Regions from separate parts of the Homo sapiens genome. Here regions 1, 3, 4, 5, 6 and 7 are each linked to region 2. The links are contacts of gene promoters, found by promoter capture Hi-C in blood cells and fetal thymus (Javierre and others, 2016). All regions are on one chromosome and are shown on one strand. The core of a region is centred on a gene start or on the middle of the fragment in contact, and the rest is flanking DNA. Distances in the headings are between cores, read along the strand shown.

Region 1 (2,700 bases), core at 40-2,539, 800 kb after region 2:
AGGGCACTTTGAGAGAGGGTGGGATAAGGGGAGAGTTTCCAGAGATGAGGCCTGCGGGGGAAATGCAAGACCTCCCAAGGAATTAGCAAGTGGCTTGGTGTGTCTCATGGGGTGGGATTCTAGTCATCTGGATGGGGACAGCTGCCCTGGAGCAGCCCTGGGAGAGAGCTTAGGAAGGAGGCTCACCTGAGAGCAGCTGTGACTTCTGGAGCTGCACAGTTGATTCTTCCCAAGTGAGACACACAGAGGTTTTATTTTCATTGCCTTTTTCTCAGATTCTTGACTATGTTAACCTGGGGTAAGGGATGTGAGAGAAAGCAAGAACCCCCTTTTTAAGGGGCCTGCAGACCCCAAGCACAGAAATAAAGGAAAATCCTGAGTTCCTCTGAGGGCAATTCCAGGCACTTCGCAATCCCCAACAAGTAAATAAGTGACTTGTTAAGAAGACAACAGTAGGCTAAAACAATAGCTAAAGAGGTTAGAGTCCCAGAGATATTAGCTTTCCCTACAGAAACCAATGATAATCTCTTAGCTTATGTCCCTGAGTTGTCTTTCAGAGGCTTGGATCCCCACTGAGGACCCCACAGAAAGGATCCACTGACATATTCCCCCAGATAAAGGGGAAGTGAAGACTAAACTTTAAACGATTTTTGGTTCTAAGTTTCTTCCCAAGGGGTTTAGAGAAAGTCATTCCTCATAACCAGTTAACATTCTTCTACTGACCCCAAATGTTTAAACAAAGCTTCTCTATTTTAGTCAACTGCAAATCAGAAGATCTTTGAATCTACCTATGACCTGTAAGCCCCTGCTTCAAGATATCCCACCCTTTGGGGCCAAAAACAACATGTAACTTCTGTGTATTGATTTGTGATTTTGCCTGTAGCTTCTGCTTTCCTGAAATGTACTACTAGTTTTAAAAACCCTTATCTGCAAGCCACCGGGGAGTTCAGATTTTAAGCAGGAGCCCGCCAGATTCTCCTTGCTTGGTGCCCTGCAATAAATGCCTTCCTTTCTATTCACTGCAAAACCCTCAGTTTAGATATCTGGTTTTACTGCGCTGGGTGAGTGGACCCCAGTTAGATTCTATAACAAGCCCTGGGTGTTCTCAGGCAGCCAGGGGAGGAGGTAGTTACTGATTCTTCCCCAGTCTCTGGGGAGCATCAATCTTGCAGAAGGTGCTTCTAGGCAGAAGCCTGAGCAACAGCAGAACCTCCTGACTGATTCCCATAGGCTCAGCCTCAGGGCCTCCCAGCCCAGAGACCAGCCCACGGGTCACATTCCTTTCTCTTGCAGTGGGGTATGTGTGCATGTGCATGCATGTGCAAATGTGTGTGTGTGTGCATGTGTGTGCATGTCTTCACAAATTCATTCTGTACTACTCCTGCTTCTCTCCATCACTGTTGCCCATCTGCAGGCCGTGGCCTGTATTGCATGAGGAGGGCAGCTGTGAAATTTAGTTGGGGAGGATCCCTTCCCCTCCCCACCCTCTTAAATCCACTCAGAACTGGTGTTTCAGGGAGAGCCTTGGATTCCACAAGTCCAGTGCTTTAAAAGTGAGCCTCAGAAAGGGAGGGGAACAATTCTGTTCCTCCTGGCTGTGGCAGCTGAAAATACCTGGAAATAGATGTGCTTAGAGTCCTGAGAAGACAGGGTGGGGCCTCAAGCCCCAGACACTAGGGGGTCCTGGATCAGTGTTCCAGGCTGGAGGTGCTGGCCTCACAATGCCCCTACCTGCAACTCAGTGAGGAAAAGGGTTGCACACACACGCCCCCAACCTGCTTCCTCTCCCTTCCCTCAGTCTACAGCCTTGAGAACTAAGAGCTCACCTAAGCTTTCATCAGTCACTGCTGTATGTGTGCTCTTGTCTCTGTGTGTGTGATAGTGTTTGTAGATTTTCCCACCATACTTGGATGCTTGTATTTTTTACAGAAAAAAAAATATAGTCACTATCTGAAATATAAGACAATGAAAAGTACATAAAGTCAGCTCCTTGTCATTCATTCAGTGAATATTTATTGAGCACTAGGCCTTCCCAGATACTGGTACCGGGAGTATTGGTGTGAATACAGCAGCCACAGTGCCTGCCCTTAAGAAGCTGACATTCTAGTGAGGGAGACAGACACAAAACAAGTTAATGTGAAATTACCAAGCATGGCACATGCCTATGAAGAAAAGAATAAGGTTCTGGAAGAGAGAGGACCTCAGGGCATCTCCTAAATCCTTATCCATACCCATATCCTTACAATCAATCATGTTTTCCAATGGCTTATTTTAGTGATTTATACATCTTGGCTCAACATCAGAACCATCCGAGGAACTTTTATTTTCTGTACTATGGAAATCTATACCTCACCTGACCTCCTGAATCAGAATTTTCACCCAAGGAGCTATACATTTATGAAGCTCCACAGATTATCTTGAGACATGCAAGATTGAGGACCATTGGCCCATTTAGGAGGCTGTGCACACATGACTCCTGTTTTCTGTGGTGAAAATAGAGGCGAGCTCAACATTCCTGACCCAGCGTGTCTTTCAGATGGTTCCATAGTACCACCTCCTGAGCCGGTTCAGCTTTGGCCTGTGGGGTTCTTTTTTTTTTTTTTTTTGAGACAGAGTCTCGCTCTGTCACCCAGGCTGGAGTGCAGTGGTGCAATCTCAGCTCACTGCAACCTCCGCCTCCTGGGTTCAAGCGATTCTCCT
Region 2 (2,700 bases), core at 105-2,604:
ATATGTAATAAAGATGTAAAAGACACCACTTAATTAAAATGTATGCAGAATGTATCCTGAGGTATTACTCTAAAGCAACAATTACAACATATATTCAAAGCCTTCCATTTCAGTACATATAGATTTGAAAATTCATTTTATTATGCAATGATGGCATAAACTATTAAATCACACTGCTCTATACTCTTGTTTCAACGAAGACTAGGAAAAGGCAGATCAGGCCGAGCGCGGTGGCTCACACCTGTAATTCCAGCACTCTGGGAGGCCGAAGTGGGCGGATCACCTGAGGTCAGGAGTTCGAGACCAGTCTGGCCAACATGACAAAACCCCGTCTCTACTAAAAATACAAAAATTAGCCGGGCCTGGTGGCACGCGCCTGTAATCCCAGCTACTTGGGAGGCTGAGGCAGGAGAATCACTTGAACCTGGGAGGTGGAGGTTGCAGTGAGCCGAGATCACACCACTGCATTCCAACTGGGCAACAGGGTGAGCCTCTGACTCAAAAAAAAAAAAAAAAAGAAAAGAAAAGAAAAAGGCAGATCACACGGGTTAACATTTTTAAATGTAAACTAAAGCTTAACGTTTTTAACATTTCTGAAATGGTCTAATGTCTAAAACCTCAACGTTAATACTTGTGTGCTCACAGGAAACCAAACATTGTATTCAGTAGGAAAGAGGAGTTGAACAGCTTATCTAAGAAACCACTTGTTCTTCAATTAGCTTTCATCTTGCTCTGGTCTTTTATTTTGTTTGCACTGCAGTTTTCCTCATAAATAATAAAAAGATCACACGTATTCAGTCAGGTAAGAAAGATCCTCTCGCTCTTATTTTAAGGAGCAATCGTCCTCTACTCCCCAACCCATGTCAAGGAGAGTCCAAAGGAATGGGACCCCTACTCTGATCCAGGACACCTCTTGGCCTGACCCATCTTCGGTGCCGGTTGGCCTGACCCATCTTCGGTGCCGGAGGTTGACACCCGCCCACCTTGGGCCTCCTCGCCTCCCTCCCGTAGAGCCTTCAGCCTACAACTCGGACCCGCGCCCGCCGGAACCTACGGGGGCGCCCGCGCGGGAGCCACCCCGCCCCCAGCCCGCCGGCGCGCGGCCGACGCGCGAGCACGACCCGCCAACCCGACGGCCGCCGGGGCCTCGGCGCCGGTCCCACCCGGTCCCAGGCTACGCTCTGCGGAGAGCGCGGCATTCGAGACAGCGCACTCGGGCTTCTCCCGCACGGTCAGCGCTCGGGCGCCAGCAGCAGACGGAGGGGCAGAGCCGGGTCGGAGCGGAAAATCACGCAGCCCGGCCCGGGAACCGACCTGTGGAGACCGCCATCTTCTCCTGCAGCCCGACGCAGCCGCCCGCACGCACGCACGAACCGTCGCGCGTCACTTCCGGGAGCGCGCCGCCCTGCACGCGTCACAGCGGACTCCGCCCCCGGCGGGCGCGGGGCGACCCGAGGGACAGCGCGCACGTGGGCCGAGGGGTCGCGGGGCCTCGCTGCTGTTTCCGCAATTCCCTTGTGAATCCCGCTCTCAAAATGAAACGCTAAAGAATAAGTTCATGAGGGCCGGGCGCGGTGGCTCACGTCTGTAATCCCAGCACTTTGGGAGGCCGAGGCGATCGGATCACCCGAGGTCAGGAGTTCGAAACCAGCCTGGCCAACATGGCGAAACCCCGTCTCTACTAAAAATACAAAAATTAGCCGGACGTGGTGGCGCGCGCCTGTAATCCCAGCTATTTGGGAGGCTGAGGCACGAGAATCGTTTGAACCGGGGAGGCGGAGGGGCAATGAGCCGCGATTGCGCCACTGCACTCCAGCCTGGACAACAGAGCGAGACTCCGCCTCAAAAAAATAAATAAAAATAAGTGGGCATTGACAGATTTGCGTTGATAAACGATTCAAAAGAGTTGGACAATAAATTTGAACAGCTAGGGATGCTGAGGTGGGAGGGTCACGTGAGCCCAAGAGGTGAGGCTGCAGTGAGCAGAAATCGCTGCACTCCAGCCTGGGCAACAGAGGGAGACTCCATTTCAAAAAAAAAAAAGAAAGAAAGAAAAAGGAAAGTAATACAGGCTGGGCGCCGAAGCTCACTTCTGTAATCCTAACACTTTGGGAGGCTGAGGCAGGAGGATGGCTTGAACCCAAGACTTTGAGACCAGCTTGGACAACATAGTGATACCTAGTCTCTACATAAAACTGAAAAAAAAAAAAAAAAAAGATTTTTCACATCCCTTGTAGGTTGTATTCCTAGGTATTTTTATTCTCTTTGTAGCAATTGTGAATGGGAGTTCACTCATGATTTGGCTCTCTGTTTGTCTGTTATTAGTGTATAGGAATGCTTGTGATTTTTGCACATTGATTTTGTATCCTGAGACTTTGCTGAAGTTGCTTGTCAGCTTAAGAAGATTTGGGGCTGAGACTATGGGGTTTTCTAAATATACAATCATGTCATCTGCAAACAGAGACAATTTGACTTCCTCTTTTCCTAATTGAATACCCTTTATTTCTTTCTCTTGCCTGATTGCCCTGGCCAGAACTTCCAATACTATGTTGAATAGGAGTGGTGAGAGAGGGCATCTTTGTCTTGTGCCGGCTTTCAAAGGGAATGCTTTTGGCCGGGCATGGATCCCAGCACTTTGGGAGGCGGAGGCGGGCGGATCACGAGGTCAGAAGATCAAGACCATCTTGGCTAACACAGTGA
Region 3 (2,700 bases), core at 142-2,641, 720 kb after region 2:
GACATTATCAATCTCTATCATTATTATGCATCTGAAAAATAAGTCAAGAAGGAAGTTATCAGCAGGGAGCGGTGGCTCACGCCTGTAATCCTAGACTTCGGGAGGCCGAGGTGGGTGGATCACGAGGTCAGAAGTTCAAGACCAGCCTGGCCAAGATGGTGAAACCCCATCTCTACTAAAAATACAAAAAATTAGCCAGGCATGGTTGTGGGCACCTGTAATCCCAGCTACTCGGGAGACTGAGGCAGAGAATTGCTTGAACCCAGGAGGCAGAGGTTGCAGTGAGCAGAGATCACACCACTGTACTCTAGCCTGGGTGACAGAGTGAGACATTATCTCAAAAAAAAAAAAGAAGGAAGTTATCACTATTTGCAAATTATGAAATGAATTCATGGAAAAGTCAAGAAACCAACTGAAAAATTACTACCGTTAATAAGGAAGTCCAATAAAGGTGGCAAGGTACAAACTACAATACAGAAATCAAATTTAAAGCAGTAGCAAAAACCAATAAAATACCTACAAGAAACTTAAGTGTTGCAGGAAGTCAGGGACCCCGAACAGAGGGACGAGCTGGAGCCACCGCAGAGGAACATAAATTATGTAGATTTCATTTTAATATGGACATATATCAGTTCCCAAAATTAATACTTTTACAAGTTCTTTACTTCAATCTCTGAACATAAATTGTGAAGATTTCATTTTAATATGGACCTTTATCATTCCCCAAATAATACTTTTATAATTTCTTATGCCTGTCTTTACTCTCTTAATCCTGTTATCTTCATAAACTGAGAATGTACATCACCTCAGGACCACTATCGTGTTAAACTGTACAAATTGATTGTAAAATGTGTGTTTGAACAATATGAAATCAGTGCACCTTGAAAAAGAACAGAATAACAGCGATTTTCAGGGAACAAGGGAAAACAACCATAAGGTCTGATGGCCTTTGGGGTCAGGCAGAATACAGCCATATTTTTCTTCTTGCAGAGAGCCTATAAACGGACATGCAAGTAGGGAAGATATTGCTAAATTCTTTTCCCAGCAAGGAATATTAATAATTAATACCCTGGGGAAGGAATGCATTCCTGGGGGGAGGTCTATAAACGGCCACTCTGGGAGTGTCTGTCTTATGCGGTTGGGATAAGAACTGAAATACACCCTGGTCTCCTGCAGTACCCTCAGGTTTATTAGGGTGGGGAAAAAAAATCCACCCTGGTGAATTTGAGGTCAGACCAGTTCTCTGCTCTCCAACCCTGTTTTCTGTTGTTTAAGATGTTTATCAAGACAATATGTGCACAGCTGAACATAGACCCTTATCAGGAGTTTTTGATTTCGCCCTTTGCCTTGTGATCTTTGCTTTGCCCTTTGCCTTGTGATCTTTGCTTTGCCCTTTGCCTTGTGATCTTTATTGGCCTCAGAAGCATGTGATCTTTGTTCTCCTTTTTGCCCTTTGAAGCATGTGATCTTTGTGACCTACTCCCTGTTCGTACACCCCCTCCCCTTTTGAAGTCCTTAATAAAAACCTGCTGGTTTTGTGGCTCAGGTGGGCATCACGGTCCTACTGTTATGTGATGTCACCCCTGGAGGCCCAGCTGTAAAATTCCTCTCCTTGTACTCTTTCTCTTTATTTCTCAGCTGGCCGACACTTAGGGAAAATACAAAGAACCTACGTTGAAATATTGGGGGCGGGTTCCCCCAATACTTAAGAGACATGTAAAACCAAAGTACATGTTTTTAGAAGACTTCAAAAGAACATGAAAGAACAAACAGAAAGATATATACTAAGATTCTGGATGATCTGATCAGAAAAAAATGACCTCTCACTGCCTTGAGGCTGAGCATCTTTTCATAGGTTTGAAAATCATTTATATTTCCTTTTTTGAAAGCAGTTCCTCCATAATCGTTATTTTTGCAATAGTTATCTTTTTCCCCCTAGATTAAGTTCTGATGGTTCTTTATTAGAAAGATCAGCCTTGGTCTGTGACATGAGCCACAGTATTTTCCCTGGTTTTTCTGAATTTTAAATTTTGTGTATGTACATGTAATTTTTTGTAAGCGATGTGGTCTTGCTATGTCACCCAGGATGGACTGCAGCAGCTGTACACAGGCATGATCACAGCACACTGCAGCCCCAAACTCCTGGGCTCAAGTGATCTTCCTGCCACAGCCTCCCAAGTAACTGGGACTACAGACGTATGCCACCCTATCAGACTTATATATGTAATTTTGGCCATGCTGTTTTTCCCTTTATGTTTAGGTGAATTTACCAGCTTTATTCATACAGTTTCTATGTTATGAGTCATTCATTGGAAAGGACTTCCCAAATGTAATGCCTTTTTTCAGCCAGCAGCTGTGGTGCCTGAGACGCACACCCAGGCAGGTGAGCTTCTGAGTCCATGTTCTTAACCATTATGCGTAGCTCTCAAGTCAGAGAGACCTGCAGTTGCTTTCACCATTAGTTTAGTGTGAGTATCTAAGAAAATATGTAACTGTCTGGTGCTTCTGTACCATCTAATTTAAAAGACAGGATAATCATTAGTTATGTCATTCAAAACCTCAGAGACCAGGACTCTAGATTTATAAACCCATGAATTATAGGCACCTGACTGCACAACTAGGTAGTTAAAATCACTACCAGGAATTGATTAGTAACTCATTTCACTTGCTGTAAAGAGGGTGTCCTTGATATCAAGGCTC
Region 4 (2,700 bases), core at 196-2,695, 740 kb after region 2:
AAAATCAATGGAGCTGGGTGCGGCTGGCTCATGCCTATAATCCCAGAGCTTTGGGAGGCCAAAACAGGAGCATCCCTTGAGCCCAGGAATTTGAGACCAGCCTGGGCAACACAGCGAGACTCCATCTCTACCAAAAAATTAACAAAAAATATTAGCCACGTGCAGCAGCATGTGCCAGTAGAACTGCATTCAAAATAGCATCAAAAAGAATAAAACTCTTAGGAATAAATTTAACCAAAGAAGTGCAGGACTTTTTCACTGAAAACTGTAAAACATAGATAGAAATTAAAGAAGATCTAAATAAATGAAAAGACAACCCATGCTCATGGGAAATAATATTGTTAAGATGATAATACTCTCCAATTTGTCTATATATTCAACAAAATCAAAATCCCAGATGGCTTTCTGCAGAAATTGACAAGCTGCTATTATTCATATGGAAATGTAATGAACCCAAAACAGTTAAAAAAATCTCAAAACAGAAAACAAGTCAGAAACTCACACTTCTAATTTCAACACTGCCAAGTTACAGTAATTAAAACAGTATGGTACTAGAATAAAGGCAGACATGGAGATCAGTGGAATAGAATTCATAGACCAGAAACAAACCTTTACTTTTATGGTCAACTGATTTTCAATTAAAACAAAAAAGTGCCAAGACAATTCAAGGAGAAAGAACAATTTTTTCAACAAACAGTGTTGAAACAACTGGGTATCCACATCGAAAAGAATGAAGTTGTACCCCTACCTCACAGTGTGTAGAAAAATTAACTCCAAATGAATCACAGACCTAAATGTAAGAGCTAAAACTGTAACTCTTGGAAGAAAACATAGGAATAAATCTTTGTGACCTTGGTTTAGGCAATGATTTATTAGACATGACACCGAAAAGCACAAGAAACAAAAGAAAAAACAAATTGGACCTCATCAAAATTATTAAAAACATTTGTACTTCAATAAGAAAATGAAAAGAAAACCCAAAGAATGAGAGAAAATATCTGCAATCATACATCTTATAGGGGAACAGTATACAGAATTTTAAAGAACTCGTGATTCCACAATAAAACAGCAAATAACCCAATGAAAACGCAGCCAAATAAGCTGAATAAACATTTCTTCAAGAAGATACAGAAATGCCCAATAAGTACATGAAAAGATGCTCAATCTCATTAGGGAACTGCAAACCAAATCACAGTGAGGTAACACTTCATAACCATTAGGATGACTAAAAGTAAAAGACAGGCAATGGCAAGTGTTAGCAAGAATGTGGCAAAATTAGAATGTTCATTCCTTGCTGGTGAGACTGTAAAAGGTGCAACCACTTTGGAAAATTCTAACAGTTATCCAAAATGTAAACATACAGTTATTATGTGACCCAAAAATTCCACTGCTAGAGAAAGAAAAACTTAGGTCTACATAAAAATGCATATACAAATGTTCAACGCAGGCCAGGTGCGATGGCTCACGGATGTAATCCCAACACCTTGAGAAGCTGAGATGGGAGGATCTCTTGAGCCCAGCCAGGAGTTTGAGACCAGCCTGGGCAATATAATGAGACCGGATCTCAATTAAAAAAAAAAGTTCAAAGCAACATTATTCTTAACAGCCCAAAGGTGGAAATAATCCAAATGTCTATCAACTAATAAATGGATTTTTCAAATGCAGTATGTCCATGCAATAAAAAATTTATTCAAAATAAATAGGAATGAAGTACTGATACATGCAACAACATGTATAAACCTGGAAAACATTATTTTTAATGAAAGAAGCCAGTCACAAAATGACCACACTTTATATGAAATGTCCAGAATAGGCAAATCCATACACACCGAAAGTAGCTTAGTGGTTGCCAATGGATGAGGGAAGAGAGAATGGGGAGTGACTGACTAGTAATAGCTATGGGGTTTCTTTTTGGGGTCATGAAAATATTCTACAATTAGGAACATTTGTACAACTCTGTAAATATACTAGAAACCACTGGATTTTCCACTTTAAAAGGGTAGATTTTATTATCTATAAAACTGAATAACAACATTGCCAATGGGACTGCAAAATTATACAGATATAACCACTTTGGAAAAGTTTGTCAGTTTCTTATAGAGTTAAACATCAAATTACCATAGGTTCTGGCAATTACATACTTAGGCATTTATCTCAGAGAAATGAAAACTTATGTTCACACAAAAACCTGTACACAAATGTTTATAGCAGTTTTATTTGCAATAACCAAAACCTGAAAACAGCCTAGAGGTCCTTCAATAATAAATGTTAATCCAAACTCTGGTATATCCATTATATGGAACACTACTCAGCAATTAAAACAAAGAAACTATTGGCCAGGCACAGTGGCTCATGCCTGTAATCCTAACACTTTGAGAGGCCGAGGTGGGTGGATTGCATTGCCTGAGCTCAGGAGTTCAAGACCAGCCTGGGCAACACGGTGAAACCCTGTCTCTACTAAAATACAAAAGATTAGCCAGGCATGGCAGCAGGTGCCTGTAGTACCAGCTACTTGGGAGGCTGACGCAGGAGAATTGTTTGAACTGGGGAGGCGGAAAGTTGCAGTGAGCCGAGATCGCGCTATTGCACTCCAGCCTGGGCAAGAGAGTGAGACTCCAACTCAAAAAAAAAAAAAAAAAAGACAAAGAAACTACTGATATGCACAACAACTTCGATAAATCATGAGAGTTTTATGTTGTA
Region 5 (2,700 bases), core at 29-2,528, 650 kb after region 2:
AAAAAAAAACTTTTTTTTTTTTTTTTGAGACGGAGTCTCGCTCTGTCGCCCAGGCCGGACTGCGGACTGCAGTGGCGCAATCTCGGCTCACTGCAAGCTCCGCTTCCCGGGTTCACGCCATTCTCCTGCCTCAGCCTCCCGAGTAGCTGGGACTACAGGCGCCCGTAAAAAAAAACTTTTTTTTTTAACAATTTTTTTAACTGGTGGGAGGGAATCAGATCTCTGTGCTCAATCCTATAAACAGATGTCTCTGAAATCCTAGTCATGCTAGAGTTAGTGTCTTAACATGAAAACAAACTGTACAAAAATGTTAACTCCAATTGCCTCCACCTAGAGACTACCAGAAATTTATGTGATCACAGGTTATTTTATTAATAGAGAGAAAAATCAATTGAGATTTATTTGTGCTGCAATGGGTGGGAGGAGTATGTCTGTATATATGTATCCTACGTCCTAACTTCCTAAATGTAAATACCAATGGGCAGGACTAAAGCCCATAAAAGCAGAAAATGGACATAAAATGTTTAAAATTCTGCTACTGAAGTAATATAGGGATCAGATAATGCAATTGAACTGCAAAACAAATTTTAATGAGACAATCCAAGCCAATGCCATGCCATGTTTAGAAATAGCAACAGGGAGAAATGACATGGCTTGAGTTCATCATTTCTTCTTCACAAGATTGTTGTGGGAAAGCTGTAGAGAGATCTTAGCCTCAAACCTTAATCTTAAAATCTAGTGTTAGATCCTGTCTTCTGACACCTCAGGAAAACAGGCCAAACTCAGAAGTGAGTATACATTGTAAATTTATCATTTCTAACATAAGGTATTTGAGAAAAAAATAAGATAATCTCTCAATATTTATTTCTTTAAAAATTAAAAAAAATAAATGACCAGGCAAGGAGGCTCACATCTGTGATCCTAGCAACTCAGGAGGCTGAGGCGGTAGAATCACTTGTGCCCAGGAGTTTGAGACCAGCTGGGGCAACATAGTGAAACTCTATCTCTATAAAACTTTTTATAAAAATTAGCTACGGTGGTGTGCCATGTCTGTAGTCCCAGCTAATCAGGAGGCTGAGGCTAGAGGATTCCTTGAGCCCAGGAGGAGTTCAAGGCTGCAGTGAGCCATGATCACACCTGTGAACAGCCACTGCACTCCACTGTGGGCAACAGAGCGAGACCTAAAACAAATGAATATGCAAACAAAAATAAAAAATAAAATAGTCTGCCGAACAGTCATTTACTGGTTAACAGGTCTGGAAAACAAGGATGCTAATTCTCACCAGGTTGGAGAGGAAAGACTGCCAGAGTGAATGTAAACCACACATATATTCGTGACTACATGCAAGCCTGCTGAAATCACAGGTGAGTACTTCTTATTTAATGCTCTCCAGTATCATTTACTGACCTTCATGTGGCCTTAAACACTAGACGATTAACATGTATGAGATCTCCTTTCCTTTCTCCTTATATCCTCTCCATTTCCTTCCCTAATTTTTTTTCAGAACTCCAACTTCCACACTTCAAATTTCTTTCTTAAAAGTGAAAAACAAAACAAAAGCACATATTTATGGAAATGAGTACTATGCTCATTGTGCTTGCCTTCTTAGAAGTTCAATTCAATTGAAACAAAAGAACCAAAAATTATATGGTGAGGAAAATAAATGCTACCTTGCTCCATCATACCACAGAAAGAATGTAACCCATAACCAGAGTAAAACGATGGACGAAAAATAAGATAAATAAAGAAGTTTGATTTGAGCGAATTTCTTCTCTTGGCCATCTAAGCCCCTCCACTCCATCTTTTCTTCGGGCAGATATCCTAGAGCTAAGCCTGGTGGATGTCTCAAGTAACCACGAGACATACACTGAGCAGGGCAGAGTGCTGCCATCTCCCACGCAGGACAGATAAGCAGAGCGAGTTCTGACAGGTAGTTATGGCGTGGGTGTCGGGACATGGGAACCAGGTGGAATGATTTTCCTTTCTTCATACCAAATACCAAAGTGTGCCAAGGTCCAGAAATTTGGATGCCAGACTCTTAGTAAAAGATGAACAAGAAGCAGGCTAGCATAGAAATCTTATCTGTTCTCTTATAAGCCTAGCCAATAAATTCACACTCTTTCCCCTAATTTCCTACCTATTTAAGAAAATATGTTACACAAGCACTCAACTTAAACTGACTAGTAGAACACAATGGGATTCTTCTCTTATGATCTAATTCTAAGATTCCCTTGGTTGTTCTCATTCTGCCCCTTCCTGGCAAGTAATGCTAGGCAACTTTTTAATTTATTTGAGACACAGCCAAGTTACCCCATATGCAAAATAAACCCCATTTCAACAGGGTCATTGAGGAAACTGAGTGAGAAAATATGTGTAAAATAGATTCTGCAGCACCCCACATGGTAGGTAGGTGCTCACAGAACAGCAGCTTCATTTACTGTACGCATTTTAAAAACCAAAGTTCAGTATCCAAATTTTTCTAGGACTTTATGTTCATACTGGTCTTACTTTAGGTAACAGATGCAAACCACCCCCTATCCCCTGCTACCACCCACTGCAAATGTGCTGTCTGTGCAATCATGTTTTCCACTAAAATTTCTTCTGGAAATATAAGTTATACAATCATAGCCACATAGTCAACCCATGGGACACTTCAGCTTTGTTAATGAGCAGTCTACTTAAAATTTAACTATCGTATA
Region 6 (2,700 bases), core at 140-2,639, 700 kb after region 2:
CTGGTGGGAGGTAACTGCATCATGGAGCAGTTACCCTCATGCTATTCTCGTGATAATGAGTGAGTTCTAAGGAGATCTGATGGTTTTATAAGGGGCTTTCCCCCAACTTTGCTCTCATTCTGTTCCTTGCTGCCACCCTGTGAAGGACATGTTTGCTTCCCCTTCCTCCATGATTGTAAGTTTCCTGAGGCCTCCCCAGCCATGCTGAACTGGGTCAATTAAACCTCTTTCCTTCATAAATTACCCAGTTTCGAGTATGTCTTTATTAGCAGTATGAGAACAGACTGACACACATCTCATTTGTTTTATATTCTGCTGTTCCTTCCTTTATACCTTTTTTCATTTTCTCTAAATACATTTCAGAATTCCATTTTGACTTCTCTTGTTTTTTAGTTATCACCTCTTTGCATTTTTTTCTTTTCCAGTGTTTGTTCTAGGAATTATAATGTATATCTTTAACTTTGCAGTGTACTTAAAGCTAATTCTACCCCTTCATAAAATAAAGACCACAGTAAGCACACAGCTCCATCAACCTAGACTCATCCTTTATACACAGCAGTCATATATAAATGCCATATTGTAACATTATAATTTCTGCTTTAAACAGTCACAACTGTATATTTCTTAATGGAGTGGGGAAGACTTACATTTTTACCAATTGCAGTGCTCTTCATTCCTGAAGTTCTGAGTTTCAGCTGGTAACACTTTCCTTCAGCTTGAAGTATCTCCTTAAACATTTCTTGTAGTATAAAGATTTTCTTAGCTAGAAAGTATGTTTTCTTATTTGGCTACAGAATTCTGAGTTGATTTTTATTTTCCCAGTACTTTAAAGGTGTTTATAGCCTGCTGGCCTGCATTATTTCTGATAAGAAGTCAGGTCTGTCAAAGATCAGATGGTTGTAGATATGTGGCATTATTTCTGAGGGCTCTGTTCTGTTCCACTGATCTATATCTCTGTTTTGGTACCAGTACCATGCAGTTTTGGTTACTGTAGCCTTGTAGTATAGTTTGAAGTCAGGTAGCGTGATGCCTCCGGCTTTGTTCTTTTGGCTTAGGATTGACTCGGCAATGCGGGCTCTTTTTTGGTTCCATATGAACTTTAAAGTAGTTTTTTCCAATTCTGTGAAGAGAGTCATTGGTAGCTTGATGGGGATGGCATTGAATCTATAAATTACCTTGGGCAGTATGGCCATTTTCACGACATTGATTCTTTCTACCCATGAGCACGGAATGTTCTTCCATTTGTTTGTATCCTCTTTTATTTCATTGAGCAGTGGTTTGTAGTTCTCCTTGAAGAGGTCCTTCACGTCCCTTGTAAGTTTGGATTCCTAGGTATTTTATTCTCTTTGAAGCAATTGTGAATGGGAGTTCACTCATGATTTGGCTCTCTGTTTGTCTGTTATTGGTCTAGAAGAATGCTTGTGATTTTTGCAAATTGATTTTGTATCCTGAGACTTTGCTGAAGTTGCTTATCAGCTTAAGGAGATTTTGGGCTGAGATGATGGTGTTTTCTAGATATGCAATCATGTCATCTGCAAACAGAGACAATTTGACTTCCTCTTTTCCTAATTGAATACCCTTTATTTCCTTCTCCTGCCTGACTGCCCTGGCCAGAACTTCCAACACTATGTTGAATAGGAGTGGTGAGAGAGGGCATCCCTGTCTTGTGCCAGTTTTCGGGAAAGGATTCCCTATTTAATAAATGGTGCTGGGAAAACTGGCTAGCCATATGTAGAAAGCTGAAACTGGATCCCTTCCTTACACCTTATACACAAATTAATTCAAGATGGATTAAAGACTTAAATGTTAGACCTAAAACCATAAAAACCCTAGAAGAAAACCTAGGCAATACCATTCAGGACATAGGCATGGGGAAGGACTTCATGTCTACAACACCAAAAGCAATGGCAACAAAAGCCAAAATTGACAAATGGGATCTAATTAAACTAAAGAGCTTCTGCACAGCACAAGAAACTACCATCAGAGTGAACAGGCAACCTACAAAATGGGAGAAAATTTTCGCAACCTACCTCATCTGACAAAGGGCTAATATCCAGAATCTACAATGAACTCAAACAAATTTACAAGAAAAAAACAAACAACCCCATCAAAAAGTGGGTGAAGGATATGAACAGACACTTCTCAAAAGAAGACATTTATGCAGCCAAAAAACACATGAAAAAATGCTCACCATCACTGGCCATCAGAGAAATGCAAATCAAAACCATAATGAGATACCATCTCACACCAGTTAGAATGGTGATCATTAAAAAGTCAGGAAACAACAGGTGCTGGAGAGGATGTGGAGAAACAGGAACACTTTTACACTGTTGGTGGGAGTGTAAACTAGTTCAACCATTGTGGAAGTCAGTGTGGCGATTCCTCAGGGATCTAGAACTAGAAATACCATTTGACCCAGCCATCCCATTACTGGGTATATACCCAAAGGACTATAAATCATGCTGCTATAAAGACACACGCACACCTATGTTTACTGCGGCACTATTCACAATAGCAAAGACTTGGAACCAACCCAAATGTCCAACAATGATAGACTGGATTAAGAAAATGTGGCACATATCCACCATGGAATACTATGCAGCCATAAAAAATGAAGAGTTCATGTCCTTTGTAGGGACATGGATCAAACTGGAAACCATCATTCTCAGCAAACTATCGCAAGGACAAAAAACCAAACAC
Region 7 (2,700 bases), core at 106-2,605, 940 kb before region 2:
CTTGCCAATTAGCTCCATATTACCCCAGGAGGTGCCTGTTGGGCAATTGTTTTATTTCTGCTGACACCAAAGAATCACCATCTTAATAGCTACCGTGGTCCTTTAAGTCTTTATACTGAAATTTTTGACTATATGTGAAAATGACCTACCAGGAATCAGAGTATCAAAATGTATTGTCACTGGCACTAATGGAAACAAGTGACCCCCACAAAATAATCAGAACTGAAGTGCCACAGTTATTAAAAATATTACCTCCTTCTTCTAGCTTTCAGACTAACAATAAAACATCATTTTTATTTGTAAACTGCTCCCATGCAAATATGTAATATATTAATCACCAGAAGAAGCAGTATTTGGAATTTAACACCATGCCATGTTCCTACAGAAGTTGCATAGTCATGAACATCACGTTATTTCCTTTCTCAAATGAGGAGGGGGAACATCCATCCTAGGGGCTCTTTCCTGCTGTGCTGATGAGGTATGAAGAGCACACACCTCAACCACAATACTGAGCTTTTCTGTGACCGCTTCCTGTGTGTGACAGGCCGTGGCCCCAGCTGCACATGCACTAAAGGTCCCTCCTGCTGCTGGGAGTGGCTGTGTTGTGGTTACTGCGGAAACTTCATTTTTCTCACTTCCCTAGGTTCAGGTAGAGCTGGCATTTAGTCCATCAGAAATAACATTTCAGCTTGGCAAAGCACAAAGGCCTTTTGTAAACTCTAACTTACTCAGGTTCCCAAAATATTTCAGTCCTTCCTTGTCAAATGCTTGTCAATGCTGAACAGAGACCCTGTAACAAGGGAGCAGGCCTGCTGTTCTACACTACAGCCATCACATGACAGACTGGAGGCCCAAGCCAGATATCCACTGAGGACAAAGTGAGGTCGTAGAGAGAAGGCCAAATGTGTGCAACCACAGCAAGCCTTGAACTCCAGCCCCTGGAGGTGAAAGACACCTTATCACTCATGAAGCTTATTCTGCCACCCCACAGTGACTTCTCTCCATGTTTTCAAGGACGTCTGGTGATAGAGGATATATGCTAGAATATTTTCAGATATATGATTTCACGGATATCCAAAACAATTGCATTCATGACACTTACCTTTTGAAATTTCAAATGTTTAGTGGCCAGTTGTCACTAGTCTTATATTATGAAGGGAAATAAGAATGATTAACGCCCAGAAAATTATTGAAGATGAAATCAGGGTGCCAGGTGAAAGTAAGTTAGTTTGACCCCTCGAATTAATTTTTTAGAGCTACGAAGAAGGATTTCCTCTCTCCATTTTCTATTCTATTTAAATTTAGATTTTTTTTTCTTCCCTAAAAAGTTATTTAAAATCCTCTTCATCTTTATGTTTTATTTCCTGGTTATTATTATTCATCTGAATTTGAAATAATTCCATTTCAATTTCCTATCTTCTTTTCAATTTTTGTTTTCCCTCCATAGTTGCATTGAATGCATTTTGGGAAACATCATTTTTTTTTTTTTTTGAGACGGGGTCTCGCTGTCACTCAGGCTGGAGTGCAGTGGTGCAATCGCGTCTGTCTTCTAGCTCCTTGGAAAAGCCACATTCCAAGGTATTGCCATTATTCAATCTGGCTCAGAGCTCCCTTCCTGAAAAACTCTATCCCAGGGCAATTGCTTAACATGGCAGCTGCCTAATGCAAACAGGAGCCTGACCAAAAATTTAAAAGAATGATCTGGAGAAGATGTCCAAAGGGGGATGTGAAAAGCTTGGCATATTCCTGGAGATCTAGAAGGCCAAGTGCATGTGCAGGAAAAACATGGAGGGTCCCAGCTATCTCTGGCTGACCTGGAGGCTCTGTGCAAGCTAAAAGTGGAAACTAACATGGAATTGTCTCAGCATTGAACGTGTGACCCAATGCACACACGCATGCACTCATACACATACACATGCACATGCACACATACATACACATGCACACACATACACATGTTCACATGCATATGCATGCACTCACACACATACTCTTGCACATGCACACACAGGTACACATGCACATGCACACACGCACATGCATACACATGCACACACACACACGCATGCACTCACACATGCACGTGAACACACTCATACACATGCACTCACACACAAATGCACATGCACACATGCACACATGCACATGCACACACATACAGCCTCTCAGAAAAGAGTAGAATTACTGGCGTGAGACACCTAAGGAAATCACTGATCAATCATTAACTAAAAACTAAGAGTTCAGTGCTCAACACACAACAGGGAATACAGACTTCAGGGAGTTAGTCTAGGAAAGTTAATAAAGAAAAATAATGATAGGAAAACAGCAATAACCACACAAATCCTGCAGGGTGGCAGGAGGAGATGGGGATCTGATTGCAATGTTGTTATCTTATGTTATCTAAAATATCTAGTTTTTACCAAAATATCTTAAGATGCCTAAGGAAATAGGAAACTATGGCTCATGTATAAGAAAAAATAGCAGTTGATAAAGACATAGAGGAACACGATCAACCAGCCTGAACTAACAGTCACCTCTGGAACATACCATCCAACAGCAGCAGAATACACACCCTTTTTAAGTACACATGGACTATCCCCCAGTGCAGACCATATCCTGGCATAAACCAAGTCTTAATAAATGGAAAGGGTTGAAATCATACAAACTATATGCTCTGACCACAAAGTTAAATGAGAAATC

The links. Contacts are between HindIII fragments. The CHiCAGO score rates a contact against its expected background, and 5 or more counts as called.
Region 1: a fragment that was not itself captured here is called in contact with the fragment with the promoter of UBE2V2 in region 2 in 1 of 17 cell types (monocytes); the score reaches 6.1 in monocytes.
Region 3: a contact is called between a fragment that was not itself captured here and the fragment with the promoter of UBE2V2 in region 2, in 1 of 17 cell types (neutrophils). The highest score is 9.4, in neutrophils.
Region 4: a contact is called between a fragment that was not itself captured here and the fragment with the promoter of UBE2V2 in region 2, in 3 of 17 cell types (total CD8 T cells, fetal thymus and naive CD4 T cells). The highest score is 8.4, in total CD8 T cells.
Region 5: a contact is called between a fragment that was not itself captured here and the fragment with the promoter of UBE2V2 in region 2, in 1 of 17 cell types (monocytes). The highest score is 5.5, in monocytes.
Region 6: a contact is called between a fragment that was not itself captured here and the fragment with the promoter of UBE2V2 in region 2, in 1 of 17 cell types (neutrophils). The highest score is 6.4, in neutrophils.
Region 7: a contact is called between a fragment that was not itself captured here and the fragment with the promoter of UBE2V2 in region 2, in 3 of 17 cell types (total CD4 T cells, naive CD4 T cells and total CD8 T cells). The highest score is 8.4, in total CD4 T cells.

The regions. Positions count from the first base shown.
Region 1 is chr8:47,204,897-47,207,596 of GRCh38, reverse strand. No RefSeq gene overlaps it. Among named protein-coding and RNA genes, the nearest start is that of SPIDR, 55 kb to the left of the region's middle. The HindIII fragment of the contact is 1,089 bases long and covers 745-1,833 here.
Region 2 is chr8:48,007,085-48,009,784 of GRCh38, reverse strand. It overlaps UBE2V2 (ubiquitin conjugating enzyme E2 V2), which reads right to left and starts at 1,354. Exons shown (of 4, transcript NM_003350.3): 1 at 1,315-1,354. The coding sequence starts at 1,330. RefSeq lists silencers at 959-1,158, 1,389-1,648. The HindIII fragment of the contact is 2,629 bases long and covers 577-2,700 here.
Region 3 is chr8:47,285,943-47,288,642 of GRCh38, reverse strand. The region is part of intron 3 of SPIDR (scaffold protein involved in DNA repair); the gene reads right to left. Among named protein-coding and RNA genes, the nearest start is that of SPIDR, 26 kb to the right of the region's middle. The HindIII fragment of the contact is 8,846 bases long and covers 1-2,700 here.
Region 4 is chr8:47,266,070-47,268,769 of GRCh38, reverse strand. All of the region lies in intron 1 of SPIDR (scaffold protein involved in DNA repair), which reads right to left. Among named protein-coding and RNA genes, the nearest start is that of SPIDR, 6.5 kb to the right of the region's middle. The HindIII fragment of the contact is 3,553 bases long and covers 1-2,700 here.
Region 5 is chr8:47,356,579-47,359,278 of GRCh38, reverse strand. The region is part of intron 5 of SPIDR (scaffold protein involved in DNA repair); the gene reads right to left. LOC107986940 (a long non-coding RNA gene) reads left to right here. Exons shown (of 3, transcript XR_001745888.3): 3 at 1,255-2,700. Among named protein-coding and RNA genes, the nearest start is that of SPIDR, 97 kb to the right of the region's middle. The HindIII fragment of the contact is 8,146 bases long and covers 1-2,700 here.
Region 6 is chr8:47,311,967-47,314,666 of GRCh38, reverse strand. The region is part of intron 5 of SPIDR (scaffold protein involved in DNA repair); the gene reads right to left. Among named protein-coding and RNA genes, the nearest start is that of SPIDR, 52 kb to the right of the region's middle. The HindIII fragment of the contact is 5,254 bases long and covers 1-2,700 here.
Region 7 is chr8:48,947,590-48,950,289 of GRCh38, reverse strand. No RefSeq gene overlaps it. Among named protein-coding and RNA genes, the nearest start is that of SNAI2, 28 kb to the right of the region's middle. The HindIII fragment of the contact is 763 bases long and covers 974-1,736 here.